Regions from separate parts of the Homo sapiens genome. Here region 2 is linked to region 1. The links are contacts of gene promoters, found by promoter capture Hi-C in human tissues and cell types (Jung and others, 2019). All regions are on one chromosome and are shown on one strand. The core of a region is centred on a gene start or on the middle of the fragment in contact, and the rest is flanking DNA. Distances in the headings are between cores, read along the strand shown.

Region 1 (6,559 bases), core at 1,573-4,072:
ACGGTGCTGCCTTTGGGGCCTGGTCAGAGCTGCACGGTGCTGCCTTTGGGGCCTGGTCAGAGCTGCACGGTGCTGCCTTTGGGGCCTGGTCAGAGCTGCACGGTGCTGCCTTTGGGGCCTGGTCAGAGCTGCACCGTGCTGCCTTTGGGGCCTGGTCAGAGCTGCACGGTGCTGCCTTTGGGGCCTGGTCAGAGCTGCACGGTGCTGCCTTTGGGCTGCTATGCCAACTTCTTGGATTTTCCTGACCTCCCCGCTGTTAGGCTCTTGGGTTGCTTGGGGTGGCTGTTTTGGGAATACCAGGATTTTTCTTCCATTATTTGTGTGCAAGCAGTGTTCATTTCGCTCAAAGAAATGGAAGCTTGATTGATCTCCTAAATGTAAGAATGAGATTGTCCTGTAATAAATATTTAAGACTGACCAGGAAAGGCGACCACCATCTGCTGAAACACAAGACCAGGAATTACTTTGCTAAGCTTCCTGAACGGAGGGAATGAATGAATAACCATCCTATATAATATTTGCTCAGCACCTGGTAGTTTACAAAGAGTTTTCACTTACCTTATTTGATCTTCACAATAACCCCAGAGAAGTAGACAGGGCGCGGATTACGAGGATTACGAAAAACCCACATTTTTTTCTTTTTTTCTTAACAGATAAGGGCTCTAAAGGCTTAAAGTCACTCGAGGGAGGTCAGAGAGTTTGGGGACTAAATCTCGAGTCTCTCATTAATTCATGCACATATTTAAAAAATATTTATCCGGAGCCTGTTCCAAGCCAGATGAGATGGCAGTGGGTACAAAGATGAATAAAACACTGTCCCTGCGTAGGAAGAAGATCACGTTCTAGCCTGGGGGAGAGCGCCAGGAAAAGTAAACAGGTCCCCCCCTGCTTTGTGAGGTGATGAGTGCTGGGGAGATAGGAAGAGAGTGGGGACCATGTTTCTAATCTGATTCTCCTACCGACGACCAGCTCAGTTGTTATTTACAAATACCTGTCCCCTAAAGGGGGGAGCGGGGTTGGGGGGGCTTGGCCGTGCTGCTGGGGTCAGAGCTCGCAGGGGGGTTCTGCCGCAGTGTGGGGACAAACTCTCCCTTATTGGGCAAATATTTCCCGGGGCGCTACGCTAAGCACACGGGCTCCCCGAATTTCCCTCCCCAGGGCCTCTCTGTCTTTGGATGGCCTGTCAGCAAGTCCCTGCAGCCTCCAGCCCGGCCCGCGCGGCGACCCAGTCCCCTGTCGCCCGAATCTTCCACCGCTGCGAAGCGTCCCCGGGCGAGCGCCCTGCTCTCCGCGCTGCGCGGAAGCCAGAGCCGGTCCTCACAGTGAACTCGCCCAGCCCTGCTCGCGGCTCTCTCGATTTTATGTGGGTTTCGTTGGATGCATTTTGTTATTTGCCTCAATGGATGTTTCACATTAATTTTTAGTTGCACAACGAACGCGCGGGAACATTCTCCGTGAGAGAAAAAGCACGGGTGGGGGGCGGTTACCGGTGCTTCCCCCGGTCGCCTGGGGGTCCCGCACGCGCCCCGCGGGTGCCGCTGTCTGGCTGGGGTCCCTGGGTGAGCCGCGGGCACCGGCTTCGCGTCTCCCCGGGCGCGACTCCGCTTTGCAAGCGCTCAGCACACGGGAAACCCTCGGAAAACACACACGTGTGTAAAGTTTGTTCCACGCAGAAACAAAGGACGCGTGGGGGCCGCTTCTGGGGCCTCGGTCCTTTGTTGGAACCCCGCACCGCAGCCCGGCCCGCAGCCTCGCCCCGCAAGGGGAAGCCGGCCCTGCACAGGCCCGGGGCCCGGAAGGCGCCGCCGCACAGCTCTGCGCCCCCGACCCGCTCCGGCCGCGCGCTGGGCCAGGCCCTTGGCCTCAAGCCTCCCGGGCGGCTCCGGGCCGGACCCGGGTCTCCGTCGCGGGACGCCAGCCTGTTTGTGGGTGCCGTGCTCGGGCCCGGGCGGCCCCTGCCCGACGCGGCCCCACGGAGCCCCTGCACGAACCCCGCCGACCTGGCCCGGGGCGGCAAGTCGAGGTGCTTAGGGCGCCCTGGGCCCGGCCAACCGTGGAAAACCCGGCCCGGGGCACGGGGGGGCGCGGGGGTCGCAGGGCCAGGGCCCAGGCAGGGAACAGAGATTTTTTTCGCGGGGAGGGGGGTGGGAGGTGTCAAAGTTTTCGGGGAACTTTTCCACTTGAGATTCCACGACCCTGCAGTGCCCCCTACAGAAAGCGGCAGCTGGGGAGGGCGGGCGCCCCCGACGACCCCCGACTGCCAGCGGCGGCGCGGCCAGGCTGCCTGGAGTTCTTGTTCCTTTTTTTTTTTTTTTTTTCCTTTTATTTCCTCGTGGTTGTTTGTCGGATACATCTTTTTCCAGAGTGGGAAAAAAAAAAAAAAAAGCGAGCGCCGCCGCCTGCAGTAGAGCGTGCTCGGCCTGCAGAGGCAGTCGTCTCCAACTTTTCCTCTCCCGCTCCAACTCCCCGCGCCCAAAACTTCAGTTCTTGGGGAGCCCAAATTTGCCTGCCGCGCAACTTCCACTCTAATTCAGCGACCAAGGGCCCTGGCAGCGGTTTGCAGCCTGGGGGCCACGCTCCCCAGGCTCAGGCCTGCTCGTTGGCCTGCTCCTAGTGCCTGGACCCAGTTGGGGGAGGCGAAACAGGGCGCCCGAGGAGCACCCCGGGAGAGGGCGGAGCACTCCCGTGCCCCGGGGCAGGAGTGCAGGGAGCTCCCGCGCCCGGAACGTTGCGAGCAAGGCTTGCGAGCGTCGCAGGGGGGCACTCGCGAGGGACGGACAGGAAGAGGGCCAGGGGGGAACGCCAGAACCCGGGACCACAGCACGGAAACGGTCCGGGGCTGAGCTGCAGTCAGATCCGGGGATGGAGGGAGCCGGAGAAGAGGAGTGAGAAGGCCGGGGAGGCAGGCCCTGCTGTCTTCCTGCAGGCCGGCAGCCTGCTGGCAGTGGAGGACCAGGCCGTCCAGGAAAGGAAGGGGTCAGGAGGTCGGGCAGGGCCTCAGCAGGTTCAGACAAGTCCCCAGAAGGGAGCTGCAGGCGCCCTCGAGTCCAGGCCCCAAGCCTGGCTCCGGTTGTCCAAAGAGGGCCTAGGCCAGGCCTCTGGTGCGGAAACTGAGTCACAGCCAGACCTCAGGGCACGGCCTAGACGCTTACGAGCCAAAGTTAGGGGTAGAGAGCAGAGACCTCCGGGGGGTCTCAGGGAGTAGGGGGCTTCAGGGCCTCCCAGTCTAGAGCCGGATTGGCGAGTTAGACGCTTGTAGATCCAAGGTTGGATTGGGGTGGGGTCTCTGGGACGTTGGATCGCTACGCAAGGATTGGGGGGATTCAAGTGCTTAGAGATCGAAGTCTGCCCTGGGTAGGGGGAGTCAGACAATTGGAAAGCCTAGGTAGTTATTTGGGGAGGGGTCTCTACGCCTTGGCGAAGCGCACAGCTGCATCTTTTTGGCTTGAGGCCTGAGGCCTTGTCGAGAAGCTTCCGTGAAAGGGTGGGCCAGCCGGGCCACGAGAAAGAAAGTGAATAAATCAGGAATATAAGTGGGCGGGGGGCCCCTGAGAGGGGGGTCGCAAAGGGTGAGACATGGCCACCAGGCGTTTAACCGACGCTTTCTTGTTGTTGCGGAATAATTCCATCCAAAACCGGCAGCTGTTAGCCGAGCAAGTGAGTAGTCACATCACCTCCAGCCCTCTGCATTCACGTAGCATTGCTGCGGTGAGTCTCCTGGCGGCCTCTCCGACACACGGACCGTGTGCACTGCGGCTCTGCCTGTTTGTCTGTCTCTGTCTGTCTCTCTGTTTAAAAAGAGAAGATAAGAATAATAAGACTAAGAATAATAAGATCTCTTGGCTAGAGTCAGGGGGCATCTGTAGCCCTGGATGAGGAAGAAGCGGTGCTGTGAGGCCGCAGCTCCACCTCTGCCCGGTCTTCTCCTCACTTCCGCAGCACCCCCCCCCCCGCACCCCCCGCCTTGGCGTCACTGCGCTACAGGCCGCCTGTAATTTACATATGTTTTAACGCTAACATTGGGAAGCATTGGGCCTTTCTGAAGCCTTTTTGTTTCGTTTTGTTTGAAGCTCCCCTCCCCCCAGTAATGAGCCTCAGTTTGGTCCTAAGGGCTGGGTCGCCGGATCGTAGACCCAAATCCTTGCAAAATGAACGACTCCCTCCCCTCAAAGAGGAGGGAGTTGTGTTGTTGTTTTGTTTTGTTTTGTTTTTCCGCCCGTTTTCTTTTAACGGCCCCGCAGCCCTCTGTGTGGCCTTGTTCCCTGTGAATAATTGCCTCACTGTTCTTCCTGGGGGCTTGCGTTTGTGAGACTCAAGGTGCTAGCCTCTTCACTTTCCATTTCCCAGACAGGAAATTAAGCTTTCCTCTCCATTCGAACTTTTTAAAAAAAGCCTGAGGAGGTATATGTGAAAATTAACCCCGTAAAATAGCACTTTTTTTTTTTAATTAACCACAACCTTTAGTTAGCCTAGCAGTAGCGTTTTTTAAGGGTGGTCCTGGAAAAATTACTGTTTGGGGTTTGTTTTTAATGGGGGCTACTTTTCCCTTTCTGAGCCTCAGTTTACTGCTCTGTTAAATAAGGGGCGAGTCTGGATGATCTATACCAGACAGTGATCGTTAGCTCTGTAATGTCTTCAATTGAAAAGTGAAGTTATGAAACTGGCTGTAGTTCAGGCTACCTGCTGTAGGCAGACTAGGTTGGAATAGAAGCAGCGTTGGAACAGGCGGGAAATAGCCATCCCAGGACCACATTCTTGGGGGTTATACTTGATATTAGGCAATTTTGGAACATTCATTTCACCTCTTAGGGACTGTATTGCCAGTTTATTTTTTTCTTTATGGCTTTATCTAAATGCTTCAGGAAAATTTTGCCATATGTCATGATTATCATGTCTACAAAGACAGTTTCTCCTTTTTGTAAGTCACAGGTGGAGAATGTCTTTGGCCATATAACTGATAGAAAAGTCATTTTAAGCCGTGTGAGCGGTTTCAGGAATAAAAGCATGTAAACTCAGGTCAAACAGCCTAGAACTAGGGACAGAGTGTGTGTGAGATTTCAGTTAATTAAGAAGTTGAAGGGTTTTTTTTACATTTATAAACGGAAAGGAATTACATTATATTGAAATAAATGTAAAGATGTCTGGTAGCATAGAAACAGGCTAATTCTAGCGCTAATTTTGAAGAAGAAATAATCCAAGAAATCGAGTAGAAATTGGATGAATTCAATTCCTTAATGGAACTTCAGTAATGTTAAATAAGAACTGCATGTTCCTTAAATGACTTGATTTTGTGCTGCCTCAAAAACTACTGAAACTCATATTAAGATTTCTAAGGTATCAGTTTTAATTGAAAAACATATTGTTTATTTTTCAATTTTTAATCATTAAGGTTCAAAATACCCTGAACCTTTGGGTAACATGAGGGTTTTTTTTTTTTTCCCGATTAAGTCAGACAGTTTAAAAACCTAGTATCTGAGACGGGAAGCTTTTTAAAAGTGCATCTCTGAATCAGACCACTTTAGAAAATTATTTTCTAAGTTAGGCAATTTTAAAAAATATTTAAGCTAAGCAGAATAATTAAAAATGGATAGTTAACGTATACAGTTTGGAAAAATAGATATGTCAGGGTATATACAGATACATTTAGCTAACTCACAGTTTTTTGAAAATAGATTTCTAAACCCAACTAAAAATACATTTCTAAGAACGTTAAAAAATGTTTTCTAAATGTCATACCATTGAAAATGTTAATATTTATATTAGTCTGACCATTTAAAATCTTTCTCAGATCATTGAAAGCAGTCATATCATTTAAAATATCCTTATAGTCAATCCATACTATCTCAAAAATAGGTTTTGCAGTCTAACAAACATAGTTTGCCTGAATTCAAATTTAAAAATAAAACACAGATTTATATATTTTAATTGTGTTAAAAAATGGCATGTCATAAATTTCTGAAGTATTTAGGGTTGAAGTGTTACATCTTCACTTTGCTTACAGGTGATTCGTAACAAAATCTATTCTGCACACAGTACGGCGAAATGCTAACAAGACTAAATAGAGGTTATGATTTTTTCAACTTTTCTGGAAGTTGGAAAAGCTTTATAAACATTTTGAAGCAAAAGCCATGTTTAACACAATTTGTAAAATCTATTGAGTAACTCTTAGCAATGCTTTTCACTGCATATCTAGCTCACAAAAAATTTAAAGCCTTGTTTCTGACTTGTAAATTTCAAAGCCATGTAGCAAACCAAACAAAATCGTATCTGTCAAATTTTGAATATGGACTAGGTATTAGGTGACATTAAGGAATTAATTATAATACATTACATTTGCTAATTTTATTAGAGATGCCTACTGAAATGTTTAGTGGTGAAATGTCAAGGCATCTTACCTAAGTCCTTAAACCCCTCCAAAAATAGAGGAAGCAAATAAGGCAAATTGTTACTCATTGTTAAGTCTAGTGATGAGTATGTGTGCGACATTTTACCATTTTGTAGGCTTTTCTGCATGTTTGAAAATTTTTAAATAGAAACTTAAAGTAAGTATATTTGTTAT
Region 2 (6,559 bases), core at 1,547-4,046, 1.0 Mb before region 1:
CTTTCAGCTGAAGCCTCTCCTCAATTACCATTTTGGAAATTCTAGGGCCCTTAAGAATGATGCTAAATCGACTCTGCCTATGTTCTATGAATGAAGCAACAAAGCTAGATGAGAGCACCTGTATATAGCTTGGTTTACTGAATATTTTAAGCCTAGCATTGAGACTTACTGCTTAGAAAACAAAATATTCCTTTGAACATTTCACTGCTCATCGTCCATACCACAGGATCTGAGTGTTCCGCATCCTGGATTGAGGGCCAAAAAAAAATTTTTTTTTTACTACTCGTTGACAATGCACCTGTTCATCCACGGGCTCTGATGGAGATGTAAAAAAGAATTAACATTGTTTTCATGCCTGCTAGCACAGCATCCATTCTGCAGCCCATGGATTAAGGAGTAACTTCAACATTCACTTCTTATTCTTCAATAAATATATTTTATGAGGGCATAAGTGCAACACAGAGTGATTCCTCAGATGGATCTGGGCAAAGTAAGTTGAAAATCTTCTGGAAAAGATCACCAATCTACATGCCGTTAAGAACATTTGTGATTCATGGGAGGAGGTCAAACTATCAACATTCACAGGAGTCTGGAAGAAGTTGATTCCAAATTTCATGAATGACTTTGAGGGGTTCAAGACTTCAGTGAAGGCAGCAACTGCAAATGTGGTGGAAATAGCAGGAAAACACAAATTAGAAGTGGAATATGAAGATGGGACTGAATTGCTGCAATCTCATGAGAAAGCTTGAACAGATGAGTTGCTTCTTATGGATGAGCAAAGAAAGTGGTTTCTTGAGATGGCATCTATTCCTGGTGAAGATACTGCGAACATTCTTGAAATGACAACAAAGGATTTAGACTGCTATATAAACCTAGTTGGTAAAGCAGCAGCAGGGTTGGGGAGTCTTGGTTCCAATTTTGAAAGAAGTTCTAGTATGAGTAAAATGCCATCAAACAGCATTGCATGCTACAGAGAAAGCTTTCATGAAAGGAAGAGTTCATTGCTGCAGCGAACTTCATTGTTGCCTTATTTTAAGAAATTGCCACAGCTGCCTCCACCTTCAGCAACCACCACCCTGATCAGTCAGCAGCCATCAACATCAAGGCAAGACCTCCACCAGCATAGAGATGATGACTGGCAGAAGACAGGTGATGGTTAGCATTTTTAGCAATAAAGTATTTTAAAATTAAGGTATGTACATTGTTTTTTAGATATAACGTGATTCAGTGCACACCTAATAGACTAGAGCATCGTGTGAATATAACTTGTATATGCACTGGGAAATCAAAAATTTGCATGACTTGCTTTATTGGGGTGTTCTGGAACTCACCCATAATATCTCTGAGCTATGCCTATTGATGTCTCTTGGGGACAAAGAGAGGTGGGTGGGTCAGGGCAAGGGGCAAAGATGTCATCAGCTCTTCTGCTAGAACCTTAGGGAAGAATGTCAGGATGTTGCAGGGCAAATCTGGGAGTGTGACCATTTTTTTTTTTTGAGACAGAGTCTTGCTCTGTCGCCCAGGCTGGAGTGCAGTGGCATGATCTTGGCTCACTGCAAGCTCCGCCTCCCAGGTTTACGCCATTCTCCTGCCTCAGCCTCCTGAGTAGCTGGGACTACATGTGCCCGCCACCATGCCTGGCTAATTTTTTGTATTTTTTAGTAGAGAGAGGGTTTCACCGTGTTAGCCAGGATGGTCTCGATCTCCTGACCTCGTGATCCACCTGCCTCGGCCTCCCAAAGTGCTGGGATTACAGGCATGAGCCACTACACCCAGAAGTGTGGCTATTTTTAAAAAACACAGTGCTGTGTTCTTTCCGGAAAGAGAAGTCTTCAATGGTCTGGCTTGAGACCCACAGGGCTCTGCAGACAGCCTGTGCTGTGGGGTCCTAAGCCGGATCCCCATCTGGTGGCACATGCCCTCCCAAGGGTCCCCAGTGGCCTTGGAGGTCTCAGAGACTCCCTTTGCTGCTGGAAGGAAGTCCATGCTCCCAGATGCTCATGGCCTGAGTCCTGAGGAATGCGCTCCTGGTCCCCGTTCTGCAGGTGTCACATGTGCATGGGGCTCCCAGGGGTCCTGGAGGGAGAGTTTGAAGACACGTGGGGCCAGGGTCTCCTCAGTTGCTGGGACAGCAAGGACACGGCCCTTGGGGTGAGGAGACCCTCTGGACTTCCAGGACATGCATCCCCTGGGCCTTCAGGCACTGGAGGGTGGATGCCGGCCAGTCCTCCAGATTCCGTGAATCCATGTTTTCTACCCATTGGTGGGACTGGGTGTGATTCCTTATTCCAGATCCCAAAAGGGTAGGAGCGGAAATCCGCCTTCTAATTCTTTTTTCACATGGGAGGCAAAAATCTCATCCAGCCCCTCTCCTGCTCAAAGCCCCCCATGGCTTCCAATTGCCTTAGCATCGACTGCAGCCTGGAGCCAGGCCCTGGCTCTGCTCTCCATGCTCAGGTCACCCTCAAACCCCTGTGGGTTCCCACACTGTCATGTCCTCACCTCCAGGCCATTGTCCACACTGTTCCACCCACCAGGTACACCTGCCCTGGCCCTCCCCACCTTGCGTGGACCTGCCCAACTCTCCAGCTGCCCCCACCCGAGGCCCCGAGCTCCCTTCTGCAGAGTTGGAATCCTCAGGCTCTGCAACCAGCCTGTGCAGCTTCCAGGGACCAAACGGTGGCTGGGACGGTGAACCGCACTGGTTTCCCCTCTCCCCTCTTCCTGTTGGCAGTGGAGCCCCCTCCCCTGAGTCTCTGCTGGGCTTAGACTGCCTTGACACAGGCGGCACTTCCCAGACCCCCCGTGGCTAAGTGCAGGCCCTCAGAACAGCACAGATGCAGTGGGTGGGCTTGGTCAAAGACAACAGCGGCTCTCTGTACCCTCTCTCGCCCCTCTGCTTGCTGGTGCTAAGTTCAACCCCACAGATGAGGACGGAGCCCAAGGGACGACTCAGCACTGAGGTAAAAGAAACCCTGGTCTGCTACCCTCACCCGGACATGAGACTTGGGCTTCAAGCAGGCGGGGCCACCGTGTGTGGCATCTCCACTGCAGCAGGTCAGCCTGTGCCCTGATGCAGAACCTTATTTGCATGGCAACCCAGCACCTCTCTCGGGCCCAAAACAATCACCACAACAATGATGAGACAATAACACTCCTATCTCCTGAATGCTGGCAGGGCTGGTGTAGGGCTGAGCTTCGCCTTCAGATTTTACCCCAGTCTTGCAACCACTGTAGGAGTTGCTTCAGGCTATTCTTGCCATCCCACTTTACAGCTAAGGAGACAGAGGCTCCTGGGTGAAATGACTTGGGTGGGTCCCTCCACTAGGGGGACGGAGCCTCCACGCTGACTCTAGAGCTGCTGCTCCTCGCTGTGGGTGGGCACAGCCTCCAGACTCCGGGAAACCAGAGATTAGCGAATGATCGATGAGAGTGAATGAATGAATGAGTGGAAGGTGGGGAGAGAGAGAGAACACACAGGGGTCCACTCTGCCCCCTAGCTCACCTGCGTCCTCCCCTGGCTCCCCCTCTCCAGACCCTGCGACTCCTCCTGGGCCAGCCACCCCTGGGCTGATAGACATTTTGTTGCTGTTGCCGATGGTGGCGTCCTCGAGAAAGCACGATTTCATGTGGATTCTCTGGGCGGCTTCCCCCTCAGGGTGAGTTCCTGGACTGGGAATTCTTGCTTCAAACGAAGCTTCTGGGCCGGCAGCAGTGGCAGAGACTGTGGGTCAAAGGGAGAGAGGCCTGGAGCCAGGAGCAGCTGGACAGTGGCCGGGAACCCTGACCCCCAGCCTGGTTCACCCTCCTCCCCAGATCTCCCACCAGTGGCCCACACCATCCCAGGAGCACAGCCTGTGCCTGCCCGCCACACCTCCACCCGCCACACCTCCGCTCGTGCTGTTGTGCTGTCTGGGAAGCGTCTTTCTGCTCCACTGATCCCGCAGTGGGTCTGCCCCACTGATCCCGCCCGGCTGATCTGGACGTCAGTGTCTTCCTCTGGGATTCAGCTCCTCTCTCCTCTGCTGCCTGCTTCCCACTGCACTGGAACACTGGCCCCCACTTTTGGTTGAAATCTTATGGGGGCTCCCAGCCTGGCCCCAGCTCCTGCCATCTGGCTCTGCCCTTTCCCACCCAAACTTCTGAAGAATCATCCACACTGAGTCCCGCCCCCTCCACCCCCGAGACCTCTTCTGCTCCCTGGCCCCCAGAAACCACCCCCTCAAGGTTACCACGATCCCTCTCGCTGAACCCCACAGATGCTTCCCTGGTCTCACCAGCCTGGCCCCTCTCTGGAGACTCCTTTCCCGGGGCCTCTGCTTTCCTCCTCCCTCTCTGGCTTCTCTGCTGGTTCTTCTCCCCCAGCCCATCTCTGCATTCCCAGTGTGGGGGAGGCCTCTGCCTGGGGCCCTCTGGTCACTGCAGCCACAGCTCCTAGTACGGCACCTGTCTTCCATCCTCCCTAAACACCATTCCAGTCTCAAACCATCACCCTGCTCCAGTTGGCCCAGCCTCTGCTTCTCTGCTCATTTTACAAATGAGGAAACTGAGGTTTCCTGCAGTGGGTCGTAGGGGATGGGGATCCAGAGTGCTAGCTTTATTTTATTCATTTATTTATTGAGATGGAGTCTCACTCTGTCACCCAGACTGGAGTGCAGTGGTGCGATCTCCGTTTACTGCAACCTCTGCCTCCCAGGTTCAAGCAATTCTCCTACCTCAGCCTTCCGAGTGGCTAGGACTACAGGCGCAAGCCACCATGCCCGGTTAATTTTTTTTTTTTTTTTTTTTGTATTTTTGATAGAGACGTTTTACCATATTGGTCAGGCTGGTCTCGAACTCCTGACCTCAGGTGATCCACCCGCTTTGGCTTCCCAAAGTGCTACGATTACAGGTGTGAGCTCCCGCGCCCAGCCTAGAGTGCTAGCTTTAAAAGCCCCACCTGCTCTACTCTGGTTCAGCTGCCTGGTGGAAGGAAAGGAATTTCCCATCATGCTTCTCTTCCCAAAAAGATTCTGGCTCCAGTTCCTTCCAGTGAGGACCCACGGGGTGGCAGAGTTGGGTCTGGCCTCTAGATCCCAGTTACCTGGGGGGCTGCCAGGGGGGATGTGGGCAGGGCCCTCGGACGGGACGCCGTGGAGCCTCATCTCATTGCTGTGTCCCAGCTGCACCCGTCTCAGTATGGACTGCTCCATGTGGATGTCCTGGGGCCCCCAGGGATCAACTAGGGTCCCCCAAGTTGAGGAATCACCTGGTGCCATTGAAGGGAGGTGGCGTGGACCGGCGGAACCTGGCAGGGGACAGTGGCACAGCCTCACCGGAGATTACTGCAGGCTTCTTCCTTTCCCTCACCACCACACGCAGGCCTGTCCTCTGAATTCTTCCTGGACACCATCGAACTGGCGGCCAAAGACTTCAGGCTCTGGCTTAGAGAGCAAGAGGACCTGGCGGAATAGCTCATTTTGGGGCTCCCTGAGTTCTCAGGAGCGGGGCTGGTCCTGGGTGTTGCAGGGACACTCACAAACCCAAACAATGAGCTCCTTGTTCTGATTCCCAGTCACTCCCGAGCCTTCTGACCTCATGGGGACCAAGTCTCGTTTGGTGCCAACACCAAAGGCTCAGAGCCTCCCGCAGTGTTTTAACTGCCAGGGACAACATTTATTTTTATGGTGTTTTTCATGATTTACACTTAAAATAATACTATAAAATTGTTTTAAAATAAATTTTTAAAAAGGTGCACTACTCAACAACATTAATTAAATAATCAGACATGGGTATGGCCAGAATCAGGAAGGTGGGGCTCAGAAGATTAAAGCTAGGGAAACCATGATCTAGATTCTAGAACAAGGTTCCTCATTTCACAACTGAGGCTGACAGTGGGGAAAGGTTCTCCCAAGGTTACAGGGAGTGTCCCGACTTTGGGGCTGATGCTGTCACTCACAGGTGACAAGGCTGGGCTGACAGGTGGCTCTGTCCCCTCTTGCCACAGTGCCCGGCACAGGGTAAGTGCTCAAAGTGCAACACCGCATTTCATCCAAACTAGGATGCCACAGGTGGTGAGATGCACCCCAGTTTCCAGCCTGTTAAAATGTGGGGGAAAGTAGCGTGTCTCAGAACAAATACGGTACTACAATAACCTCCCCTGTAGCATTCCGCGGAGGGAAAGGCAATTGAGTTGTTTCTCATGAAAAACACCGGACCCCATTGAAAATGAGGCATAAGGTCAGGCGCAACACAGAGATACCCCATCTTAATTTTAAAATTTTATTAGAAAAATAAAAATTAAATTAAACTTTAAAATGAGGTAGAAAGTATCAGAGTACAGGGAAATCAGGAGAGCTTTGATCCAGGTGTCCTCATTCTCAGGACGGCCGTAAAGGTGGACTGTGGGGGTCTGGAAGCAACCCTTTCCCCTTGGAGGGCAGAATCCCCCCACTCCCCATCCCTACCCTTTGCCCCCACCCAGAGGATCCGGTGGCTCCCCACCGAGGTCCCCTCCCTGGGCTCTCTTGGGTGACTTACCGTCCTCCCTGGAGACTGTCTGTCTTGTAATGATGTTCCC

The links. The method cuts DNA at HindIII sites, captures the fragments that hold promoters and counts their contacts. A contact is called where the count stands out against the background at its distance.
Region 2: a fragment that was not itself captured here is called in contact with the fragment with the promoter of STX16-NPEPL1 in region 1 in 1 of the 25 tissues and cell types used here (dorsolateral prefrontal cortex).

What each region holds. Positions count from the first base shown.
Region 1 is chr20:58,648,431-58,654,989 of GRCh38, forward strand. STX16-NPEPL1 (STX16-NPEPL1 readthrough (NMD candidate)) reads left to right here and starts at 2,823. Exons shown (of 23, transcript NR_037945.1): 1 at 2,823-3,708. STX16 (syntaxin 16) reads left to right here and starts at 2,853. Exons shown (of 9, transcript NM_001001433.3): 1 at 2,853-3,708. The coding sequence starts at 3,577. It overlaps LOC107985410 (a long non-coding RNA gene), which reads right to left and starts at 1,205. Exons shown (of 3, transcript XR_005647058.2): 1 at 559-1,205. RefSeq lists enhancers at 45-582, 3,612-3,881, 3,719-4,222 and a silencer at 1,756-2,115. The HindIII fragment of the contact is 3,892 bases long and covers 24-3,915 here.
Region 2 is chr20:57,606,644-57,613,202 of GRCh38, forward strand. ZBP1 (Z-DNA binding protein 1) reads right to left here. Exons shown (of 8, transcript NM_030776.3): 5 at 6,520-6,559; 6 at 5,084-5,287; 7 at 3,506-3,724. Among named protein-coding and RNA genes, the nearest start is that of ZBP1, 11 kb to the right of the region's middle. The HindIII fragment of the contact is 6,241 bases long and covers 1-5,917 here.